Regions from separate parts of the Homo sapiens genome. Here region 2 is linked to region 1. Evidence: promoter capture Hi-C in 16 types of primary human blood cells and fetal thymus (Javierre and others, 2016). All regions are on one chromosome and are shown on one strand. Each heading gives the region's core, a stretch centred on a gene start or on the middle of the fragment in contact. The rest is flanking DNA. Distances are from core to core; before and after follow the strand shown.

Region 1 (5,657 bases), core at 1,663-4,162:
AGAGCAACACACCAAACTTCAGTCCCAGAATTGCTGGGAGGGGCTTAAGAATCAGGCACACAGCTTACGAAGCCAGAGCAGCCCCCAAAGCAATGCCACTGAATAGGTTCCTTGTTTCTGCTAAGGCCCAGGAACCACAATTTGCATGACCAACGCCATGAGCCCTGGACTCTGCACCCCACGGCCACCACAGTCACATCCGGAACAGCAGGTTGTTTGCACAGCTGCCTCTGCTCACCACAAGAGTGAGTTCTCTTCTGTCCCTGCTTCTTTGTGTCAGCAGTTCCTAATTCCTGGTCCCAGATAGCCATGTCTGATTGCCATTCTAAGTGCTTTGCCTCTCCCTTATCTACAAGCGCAGCTGGGACAGTGAGTCATTGGGATTTCAGCTTCTATGTTGGTTGTGACCATTGCGTAAGTCAGTACAAGAAACATGGTAGGGGTAAGGAGGTCAGAAGAGACTTTCTTAAGGAAGTGATCCTGAGCCATGTGCTGAGGATGAGCTAAGGCCCCAACTTTACATAGCTGGTGATACTCACACAAGCAGGCTAAGGGGCCTCCAGTCCTTATGACATAATTAGAGGAGAGCTGGGAGGAATTTCCAGACAACAGCCACCTTCACCAGCCAGCCCTTTTGTCTGATGGTCCACACAAAACTCATTGTATGAGTCAGCAGGATCTAGAAGGTTCACTTCCTCCACAGTGGCCGACAGCTAGAAGACACAGCAGAGCATGTGGGGACCAGGAGAATCCCATAGAGGCAGAGGTGTGAGGAACTAGCAACTGTGGAAAGAATTCCCTTCCCTGAGGGAGGAGATCAGTGGTTAAGAACTATTTAAATAGTCCAAAGTGCACAGTTTAATCTTTAGAGCCCGTAGATTAGATAATAGGAGAAGGGATCCATAAATGCTGGAGCTGATAATCAAAAATCATAGATAGAGGTAGGGCCAGGTTTCCAGGACCATGGGACTGAGGACTCTAGGGAGCCCAGTCCTTGGGGAGCTGTTAGAAAGGCAAGTGCACAGCAGGGATTGGAGCTGGTAAACAGTGAGTGCTGACCCACTAGGGCTTTCATTTCGGGTACTGTCAAGGGTTCAATTGCTAGATTTAATGCTTTGCCTTTCTGCAAATAAAGGCTGTGGGAGCCACACCAGACCAGACTGCAGGGGGATTCTGATAACAGTACTCATGCATGGCATTTAGGTAGCTTTTTAAATGTAAATGTTTTCCGGGAGACATAAAGATGGCATTAGGCATTAACACACACACACCTTAGAGTTAACATCTCAGTTATTTTATGTGTTGATTGTTTATCACAAACATCTACTTGTACATTAATGAGTTAATGAAGTAGGGATACAATGAGGCCTTGCCTTCAAATAGGAATGTAAGACTGCATAGGTACACACACACCCATGTAAACCAATGAAATGAGATATACAATGTGTTATGAGAGGAGCAGATGCAATATTATGAAATTGATTAGGAGGAAGAGAATAACTCAGATTAAGACAAACTGAGAAGGACATCTTGAAGAGTGTTTTTCATTGAGCTTTGGAAAAAATGAAATCTCTGAACATTTCAAGATGAGCAAAAATGGTTTCAGGGAGGAGAAATGCCATGCAGAATGCCCTCTGTAGGGTTTGGGGAAATTAAGAACCATTTGTTTTGGAAATAATATAATGACATAAAGGAAAGCTAGGTTCTAGTAGAGAGTTGAGGAACCTGTGACAAAAAGAAACAGAACAGCTCAGTTTGGATTGTGGGATGAGTCAAGGGGAAACTTCAAAGGGAATCTGGGTGGATTAGGTGATCTGGCAGCATGAAGCCAGGGATGCATCAGGGAGGAAGGGGTGGTTAGAACAGTAGGAGAGAAAGTGCAGAAAAGGGAAAGGAAACTTTTTCTTTGTCACCATTCTGCCATCTACTTACATTAGATGAATCCTTCTATTATGTTTCTGAACCCAGACCCAGCCAGGACTTGTCTCTATTCATTTTCTGGGCTGTGTCTAACAGGAGATAATAGGCTAGAGAGAGATGCTGTATGAACAAATAGAGAAACACATTTGTTTTAAACATTCTCTGTTGCTGATGTTGGAAAAAAATGTGAAACAATTATTGCACATTTCATTTCACTAAGTTTTACCTTTTTTCCCCTTTCCCCTAATTTTCTCTTTCTTGAATTTTGAACAAAATACACAGAAGGAAAACACAAAACACAGAAATGGAAAGTAAAATGGAAGAAAATATCAAGAAAACTTTATTCTTGCTTATATTTTAAAAGGCACATTTTAAAGTGTTATCTTAAAAATCCAGAGCATTTTAGAAGATGAAATGCCAAAAGGTCTCCATTATGTCTATATGTCTATGTCTTTGAGTGACAATCACAGTGCTGATGTAGAGGGAAAGGGGGAACTAGTTAGACACTGTCACTCACCTGGGAAGGCTTTATTCACCTGTTCCACAGGGCAGTGAGGCACCTTCAGCTCTGAATCACCGAAAGAGAATCTGGTGGGGCAAGTTCCAGCTGCATGAGGATTTGCTTGCATAAATATTTTTTACTTATTGCTAACACTGAGGGTGCCTTCTTACTCCCTGGCAAACATTAAACCACTTTTATTTCCTTTCATGGAAATAAGATTATATTTACAGATGGTTCTTAGATATACTCACCTGATTTTTTTTTAATTGCTTTTCCACCTGCTTCCCCTTTCTTCTTAGGGTGAAACTCTAGCCATACGCCCTCTTCTGGTTTCGGGTGAGGAGCCTGAATTGTGGGTATCGTAGTTCTCTTGCCTTTTGGGGTTTCTAGTTGGGCAGCTTTGGAGCCACAGTGGTAGAACTTCAAGTCCCAGGTGGCTCAGGAAGCAGGGGTGCAGTTGCCTGCCTGCATACGGAGCAAGGCATGTTTGAAGAGTACCCGGGTTTGGTAGAGTGACTTCTATTCACTAAAACCATGTGTCTGAACTGAAGAAGCTTGGGCTCACTTCCACAAATGTAAGTGCTGATTTTTTAAAAATAATATTCCTTTCACTATTGATATGTGCTACACACTAGGAAGTTGTATAATTTCCAGAAAAATGTAACAAACCAGCTGCTTAACAAATCAAGCCCTGCTTAAATAAAGGGAAGGTAACTGGTATTCTGTGGGCTTATGGGACATGTGTTAGAATAAACCTCATGACATAGAATAGAATAATACCTTGAGACATGGTTTAGAATAAAGTAGTTTATTTTAAAAAAAAGGAGGAACCCAGGTCACATTAACCATCAAAGGCAAAAACAAAACACTCTATGAGTTGCTTAAAATATGTAGATGGCTGAAATCCCCTAAAAACTTTAAATATCTCAAAAAGCATACAGGTATGTTAAAAAGACTGTGCTTTGAAGATAGATAAAGTTGCAATCAGCAGCCCCACTGCTTATTAGATTTATGACCATTGACAAGATGTTTCACCTCGCAAAGTCTCAGTTTCCTCATCTGTAAAGTGTGTGTGCATAACCTACCTCATTAGGTTAATAGCATTAAATTATGAATAAAAGATAATCATGTAATTAAGTTAAGGGGGTCATTAAATTAGCACAGTGCATTGTACTGAATAGACAGATGATACATGATGGAGGGTAACTTGGCTTCATCCTAATTAAGTTTCAATTAAGCTTGGAAAACACACCAAAGAAACAAAAAGACAAATACTGGATGATTCAACTTACCTGAGGTATCTGGAGTAGTCAAACTCACATAAATGATACTTAGAATGGTAGTTGCCAGGGGCTTGGGGGAAGGAGAAATGAGAGTTGTTTAATGGATATAGAGTTTCAGTTTACAAGATGAAAACACTTGGAGACTGTACAATAATGTAAATATATTTAATACTATTGAACTTAAAATTTGTAAGTGTAAACACTTACAAATGGTTAGGATGGTAAATTGTATGTTAAGTTTTTTACCACAATTAATAAAGATAGATTTTAAAAAATTTATTTTTAAGATCAAAAAGCATGTAGTGAAAATTCCAATGCCTTCCATTTATTAAAGGTCTTCCTAATTTCCTAAAAATGTCTTAAGTCTATATTCAGTGGGTCTAATTTAGGATTGATATTGACTTATCTATGTTAATGTCTGGTTTTTACATAGCAATTACTGGGTGATAATGATGAATTTCAGGTATATTCTTAAAGTTGTCTTAACCTCAGTGGTGATTCTTTTATGCCCCCCTGAACTTAATTACATGATTATCTTTTATTCATAATAGCGATTTTTAATATGATTTCATGGGTAGTGTACAGAATCTAGAAATTATGAAGTCATAATTATTAGTTACAATTTGCTTAAAAGCTTTAGTTATGACTCATTTTTAAAACTTAAAGCAAAAATATTATTTATTCCAGTTTTCTCAACTTCCTTGTAGCTAATTTACAAATAGAATATTTTTATCTGTTTGTGTTTTAGAGATAATAAAAACTATTAAGGCAAAGTTTGTTAAACACCATCTTATCTTAAAATGTATTGGCTGATTTGGAGGACAAAAGACATTTTGGAATTATACTAATTTTGAACTTGAAGACATGTCTGTTGAATTTTTAGAGAATTCTTTCTTGAAAGACCACACATATGCCTAGGTGTCTATTAAGACTAAACATCCCTTATGGCATTTGGTGATAAGTGAAGGTGATAACAACCAGCATTTCAGATGACTGTGCAGAGTTTTACATGTGATATGCCATATATTAATAAATGTAAACCCTATGTCAGCAAGTCCAGGATAGAATTAGAATGAAACTTGTAATTCTCCAAAGGTGGAGGAAAGCTGCAGAGGCACTGAACACTGTATACTTCTAAAAGGGTGGCTTTTTTTGTTGTTGTCAAGTGCCGTCTATGGTGTAGTGTCTCTAGGAAGTGTCATTCATTCAATTGACAAAGATTTCTAGCAATCCTGCAATATACTCCCCCTGGGCTGGGTTTAGAGGCTAGAAGAAACTCATGCACAGCCCTTGAGGGGATCCTTATCTACTAGCAGAGATATGACCTCATAAATAGTTAAAGAGAGTAAGTGCTAATTCATTAGTCATTCATGCTGTTCATAGAGTCACTCCACAGAAAGTGTGATGCTCAGTATCAGGGGATTAAAAAGACACCTTCAAAAACCTTTCTTTCAACTATAATTACTGGAGACCAAATAAATAAATAAATAAATAAATAAATAAATAAATAAACTTGAGATGTATATGAGTCATTCAGAAGCAGAGTGGAGTGACTTCCTAAAACACAGAAGAGACGCGTACCCAGGCTGCCAGAGGAAGGGGCAGTCACAGTGCCCTGAATTTCAAGAGGACATTGTGGGAGGTGGTGGAACTTTAAGCAGGCCTGGAAAAATGTGCAGAGTTGAGATGGGCAGGAAAAGGTCATGAAAGTATCTCACGTACAGCAGTGTTTTCCAAACTTTCGCACATTAAATGATTTTCGGAAACATATGGACTGATCAATCAATAACAATAACATTAAGATTACAGATTGAGAAAGTTATATTTTTTGACTTAGTTTCAATTCTTCAGAAATAAGTTTTGTTGTTTTTGATATGACTTAAACTTCTCCAAACACTTGTTTAAGCTTCCTTTATAACACTCACAGAATAAGCAATAAATGTTAGTAGGCA
Region 2 (5,657 bases), core at 1,645-4,144, 510 kb after region 1:
CTTCTGCAAAGTTTGTGATAACCATGACTAGTATCACAAATTTCCACATGTCCCCCCTTCCACCAGGGGACCACAGCCCTCCTTCCCCTTGAGAATCACTCTGATACTTGAGAGACAAGGCTTTGATTAGCGGAAATAAAGTCTTGATAATTTGTTTTTCTGTCTAGTATGGCAGTTAATTTTTCTTCCTATTCTCTGTTTTCTGTGTCCCTAACATTGTCTTAGTGATAGGATGATTCCAGCTTAGGAATGCCACATGCGGAAATTAAAACCTCAGAAAATTGCTTTCCCGAGTAAGTCTCTGAGTTAGGGTTTTCCTAATTTGGTAATTCTTAAAGTGTATTTTCTGTGGCTTCTGGCTGTTTTACTAAACAACATCTGTTAGGGATAAATTCTTTCCCTTATTTTATGTGAATTGTTAGAAGTTTGAGTTCAACAAAAAATATTCTTTGCTATCAAAGGCCTTAGAGTCATGTGTGAAATTCAAACATATATACAGATAGGTTCAATACAATTAGATTAAGAACAGTGAGAAAGTTGGCCTATAGGAGTAGAGGAATGATTTCAGCTTTGCCTGGGGGAGTCAGGGAAGTTTTCTCCAACAAGTAGTGGGTGTGGTAATGAAGCCACCAGGTTTTGTTTGTTTTGTTGTTTTTTGTTCCTTTGTTTGAGATGGAGTCTCCCTCTGTCGCTCAGGCTGGAGTGCAGTGCTGAGATCTCAGCTCACCACACCCTCCGCCTCCCACCACTAGGTCTTTCTCCTTAATAGTTATAATTCCTTAAAAGCTAAGAAATAACAGTTTGAAAAATAGTTGTCCCTTAATCATGACTGTTACATTTGTAGACTAAAGTGTCAGTCAGTTCCTAAATAATGTAGTTGTATTAACATTTGCATTTACTATCAACAGTTGAAGTTTGGGATTTTCTCTATTAAGTCATTGACTTTAAAATTCAGGGGCTTCAGCTTTAACCGTAATGCTTCCCTTGTTATACGCCGTCAAGTACTGAAATTCAGTAATGGTGAATAATACCAAAATTGCCTCTTATTCAGTCATGTCCACAGAGATACACATTTTCTTTGCTAAGTCCCTTCTTTCTATCCTAGTATAACTTGAAGAATTCAAATAGTCATGCTAGGATAGAAAGAATGGGACTTGGCCAGGGAAGAAGAGTTGATTTACTGCTAATGCATTAATTGGGCATTTTGTTTCTGTGTATCTTGAGTCATCATTTTAACTTAGCCAACACATCAGAATCCATTGGTGAAATGGGACTACTAAAGTTGTTACAGACTAATCATATACTATTGTTTTTGACATAGGTGGTGTATTTAGGAGATGTGTAAGTTTTGGATAGAATATCTAATCAGTATGAAAATGGCCTGGTTTGAAAGAGTGCAGTGGTGCACACCTATAATCTCAGCACTTTGGGAGGCTGAGGCAGAAGGATCAATTGAGCCCAGGAGGTCGAGGCTGCAGTGAGCCCTGTTGATGTCACTGCACCCTATCCTGGGTGACAGAGCAAGACCCTGTCTCCAAAAACATAAATAAATAAAAGACGATAAAAGGTATCATTTTCAACTTTTTCTTTTTACAGCCTTTTAGGTGTCCCTATTGCATATGATAACATCAAAGTTGTGGGAGAGCTTGGAGATATTTATGATGATCAAGGACACATTCATCTTAACATTGAAGCCGATTTTGTTATTTTCTGCCCTGAACCAGGGCAGAAGCTTATGGTATGTGTATCACTTTTTTCTAGCTCCCTTTGTATAATTCTATAATTATGTAACTTGGAACATTTTAAGAGATAATATATACCTTGGGACTCAAATAAATTGCTATTGTGAGTAAATAAATATTATTTTTAAGGAAAAATTAATTTGTATCATTCAAACGTAGGTAAGTTTTTGAATATCCTCCTAAAACACATACATGCACACGATATATGTCCCATCCACTTTATTCTTTTCATAGTAGCAGAATGATTTTAAGGGCAAAAAAATCAATTATCATTATTATTTCAAAAGTTCTCAATTCTACACAAATACTATTTCTTTATAAAGGATTCAAAGAATATAGCAGTATATGAAACAGGAATTCAAATGGGCCAGGCAGTAATGAAAATTTATCAATGACAGAGGACAGGGCAGCCAGTCTGTGCCTTGGAAATGGAAGCTCTGTGGGAAAGGTCTTCCAGTTTTTCATAAGCTGGAAATGCAGATATTGATACAAAATCTGCTGAAATAGATCCTTTTTTACTCTTTACTTTCTCCTCTCTTCCTCCAGCAGTTCTCTGTGTGTATACACATGTTCGTATGTATACTTGTATGTGTGTGTATATGTTCTTTTCCTTAGCTGATAAATATTTTAATAGATCAGAACTGTTAACCCTTGATATTGTTCATAAAAATATAGATCAATTTAACCATGACAAAACCCACAAGACACTTCCAATTTTTTTCATTTTTCAATATCAAATTAATACAAGTAGTATCCTTTGCCTGTTAAACTGGGATCTTATAACTGGACTACTAAAGTTGGCAGTAGATTTGTATTTGGAAATTAACAAACTTAACTTTCATCTACTTTGTGTAAATTATTATTTTAAATATAAACATGTAGGCCAGCCACAGTGGCTCACACCTACAATCACAGCATTTTGGGAAGCTGAGGCAGGAGGATCACTTGAGGCCAGGAGTTTAAGACCAACGTGGGCAACATAGTGAGACCTCATCTCTACACAAAATAAAAAATTAGCCAGTCATGGTGGCATGCATCTGTAGTCCCAGTTACTCAGGAGGCTGGGGTAGGAGGATCACCTGAGCCCAGGGGTTCAAGGCTGCAGTGAGCTATGATTGCGCCAATGCATTCCAGCCTAGGCAACAGTGAGACCCTGTCTGTAAAAATACACACACACATACACGGAAATAACATATATACATGTACATGGAAATAACAGATTGTAGAAAAAGTATGAAATGAAAAATATCCCTTTTAATCTACCTACTACAAGATCCACTCCTCAAATATTTTTGACCACCCACTTTTCCTTCAATTATTATTATTAATATTTGGTGAGATAAAATTTACATATAATAAAATGCACAGATCATATTGTTCAGTTCAGTGAATTTCGTCAGGTCTGTATACCATTCCATCTCCTTAGAAAGGATCTTCATGCCCTTTCCTGGCCCAATTCCTTCTCTTTATTGCAGATATAATTACTCTTCTGATTTTATCATAAGTTGGTTTTGCTTATTCTATAGTTCCATATTAATGGAATTATTCATTATACATTCTTAAAATCTGCCGCCTTTTGATCAGCATGTTTTTGAGTTTCATCCATGCTGTTGTGTGTATTGGTAGTTTGTTCCTTTTTATTGCTCATGGTATTCAGTTATATGACTATATCACAATATAATTATCTGTCTTCATTGATGGATTGATTCCAGGCTGGGGCTTTTATGAATAAAGCTATTGAAAACATATATTTTCAGACATATGAATGAAAACATACATTTTCATTTCTCTTAAGTAAATAACTAGAAGCAGAAGAGCTAGTTCACAGGGTATTTATATAAAACCATTGTCAGACTGATTTCCCATTCAACACTTCATTTACTCTGTATCGTTATTAACATTTGCTATTGTCCTTTAATTGTACTGATGGGCATATAGTAGTATCTCATTATGGTTTTAATTTGCATTTCCGTTTCCCTCATAAGCAATTTTTCATATATTTCAGTAAGAAGGGCCTGTTCAAGTATTTTGCCCATTTTTAATTGGGTTTTTGTATTTTTATTATTGACTTATAGCAGTTCTTTTTAGTCTTAAAATGAATTCTTTTCAGATAAGTATTTTGAATATTTTCTTCCAATCTGTGACTTGTCTGTTAACTTGTAATGGTATTATTTGATGAACAGTTACTTTTAATTTTGATGAGGTCCAATTTATCATTTTATATGTTTATGACTATTGCTTTCTGGACCCTATCAAAGAAATTTGTCTGCCGAAAAGTTGTGCAGATACTGTTCTGTCGACTTCTACAAGCTTTTAGTTTTAGCTTTTCCATTTAAGTCTGTGATCATTCTCAAATAATTTTTGTGTGTAGTGTGAGGTAGGCCTTGAGATCCACTCTCTCCTTCATGTAGCTTTCCCGTTGTTCTGGATTCATATATTAAAAAACCTTTTCTTTCATTGATTTTCTGAAATTGACATATTTTTAACAGCAGTTTTAGGTTTACAGAAAAATTGAATGGAGAGTATAGAGTTCCCATATAACCACCCCCTTTCCCCTATTATCAACATTAACTTGCATTAGTATGGTGCATTTGTTACCATTTTTGTGCCAATATTGATACATTATTATCAAGTAAAGTCTGTAGTTTACATTAGAGTTCAGTCTTTGTGTTGTACATTCTATGAGTTTCCACAAATGTGTCATGGCATTTATTGAGGTATTGCTCCTCACAAGAGGGCATTAGCTGCGGGGGTCTGCCTGCAGACCTTGACCTAAAAGATGGATGAATGAAACGTACACTGACACACAGATATTGCTTTGCCAGTACTGCTGAGTGTCCGACTGCCTACACACCGAGAGAGGTTTGTCACTGCCGCTGGCCCTGAGTAGTTCACACTCCAGGCATTTATTTCGTATACAATTAACAACAGAAGCTCTGAGTCCACACACTTTTGGATAATTAACATGGTTAAGTGAGTAGTTCTATGAATGATTAAAGCTCAGGTACCGAGGTTTAAAGTAAATATCACTGGGGGCAATATCCCTGCCCCCCCAGAGGCCATCTGACTTAAAGGTTAGTTAACAGAGGTAGGGTAAACAGACTTAACTGGGGAAGCCTCTATTGTCCCTAGTATTTACTCTGTAACTTAATGCTCTAAGGTAAGAACCGGCTGTCTTCGGCCTGTTCAGCTATTACAAGCTATGTAACCTTTTGGCCTTCCAAAAAGGTTTGTGACTATTCCCTATAACTTTCCCTAATATTTCCCTTTAATATTTCTGCCACTATCCTGAGTGAATCCCAACAACTTATCTTCCATTATAGTATGATACGGAATAGTTATCCTCTCCTAAAAACCGCTTGTGCTCCACCTATTCATTTCTCCCTTCTTCCCTCCGTTCCCTGTAATCCCTGGCAACCACTGATCTTTTTACTGTTTCCGTAGTTTTGCCTTTTTAAAGAAGAAGAATAGAGTATGTATCCTTTTCAAATTGACTTCTTTCACTTAGCAATATGCATTTAAGGTTTCGCTATGTCTTTTTATGGTGAGAACTTATTTATCTTTATTACTGAATAATCTTTTATTTTATAGCTGTACCAGTTTGTTTATCTAGACCATCTGGAAACTACCAGTGGGAACACTAGACTTCTGATCATACCAGATAGGGAAGTTTTATTCTGTCACATGTGTAAAGGGTTGCTGATGTTAAACAGCATTGTATACACATCGGCATTATTTGCAGTTTCATAATTCAGAAAATGTGAATTTTTAATATTTCTGAGTCTCATTTATATGCTTTGTATATATTGACCCTGAGAAGAAAAATAAGTTTTATGCAAAGTCTCATCTTAAAATCATATAGCACATACTTTTGTTTTAGTTTTAAAGCTTCTAATAATACTTTCGTGATTTAGC

What was found. Contacts are between HindIII fragments. The CHiCAGO score rates a contact against its expected background, and 5 or more counts as called.
Region 2: a fragment that was not itself captured here is called in contact with the fragment with the promoter of MACC1 in region 1 in 3 of 17 cell types (fetal thymus, erythroblasts and total B cells); the score reaches 7.9 in fetal thymus.

Annotation. Positions count from the first base shown.
Region 1 is chr7:20,214,639-20,220,295 of GRCh38, reverse strand. MACC1 (MET transcriptional regulator MACC1) reads left to right here and starts at 2,912. Exons shown (of 7, transcript NM_182762.4): 1 at 2,912-2,997. It overlaps GIRGL (glutamine insufficiency regulator of glutaminase lncRNA), which reads right to left and starts at 2,719. Exons shown (of 4, transcript NR_134569.1): 1 at 2,674-2,719; 2 at 1,933-2,040; 3 at 540-713. RefSeq lists enhancers at 179-308, 1-402, 319-468, 1,888-3,087. The HindIII fragment of the contact is 5,395 bases long and covers 1-2,978 here.
Region 2 is chr7:19,700,860-19,706,516 of GRCh38, reverse strand. It overlaps POLR1F (RNA polymerase I subunit F), which reads left to right. Exons shown (of 4, transcript NM_001002926.2): 2 at 1,597-1,738. It overlaps MIR3146 (microRNA 3146), which reads left to right and starts at 1,081; the gene lies at 1,081-1,159. The HindIII fragment of the contact is 2,320 bases long and covers 1,735-4,054 here.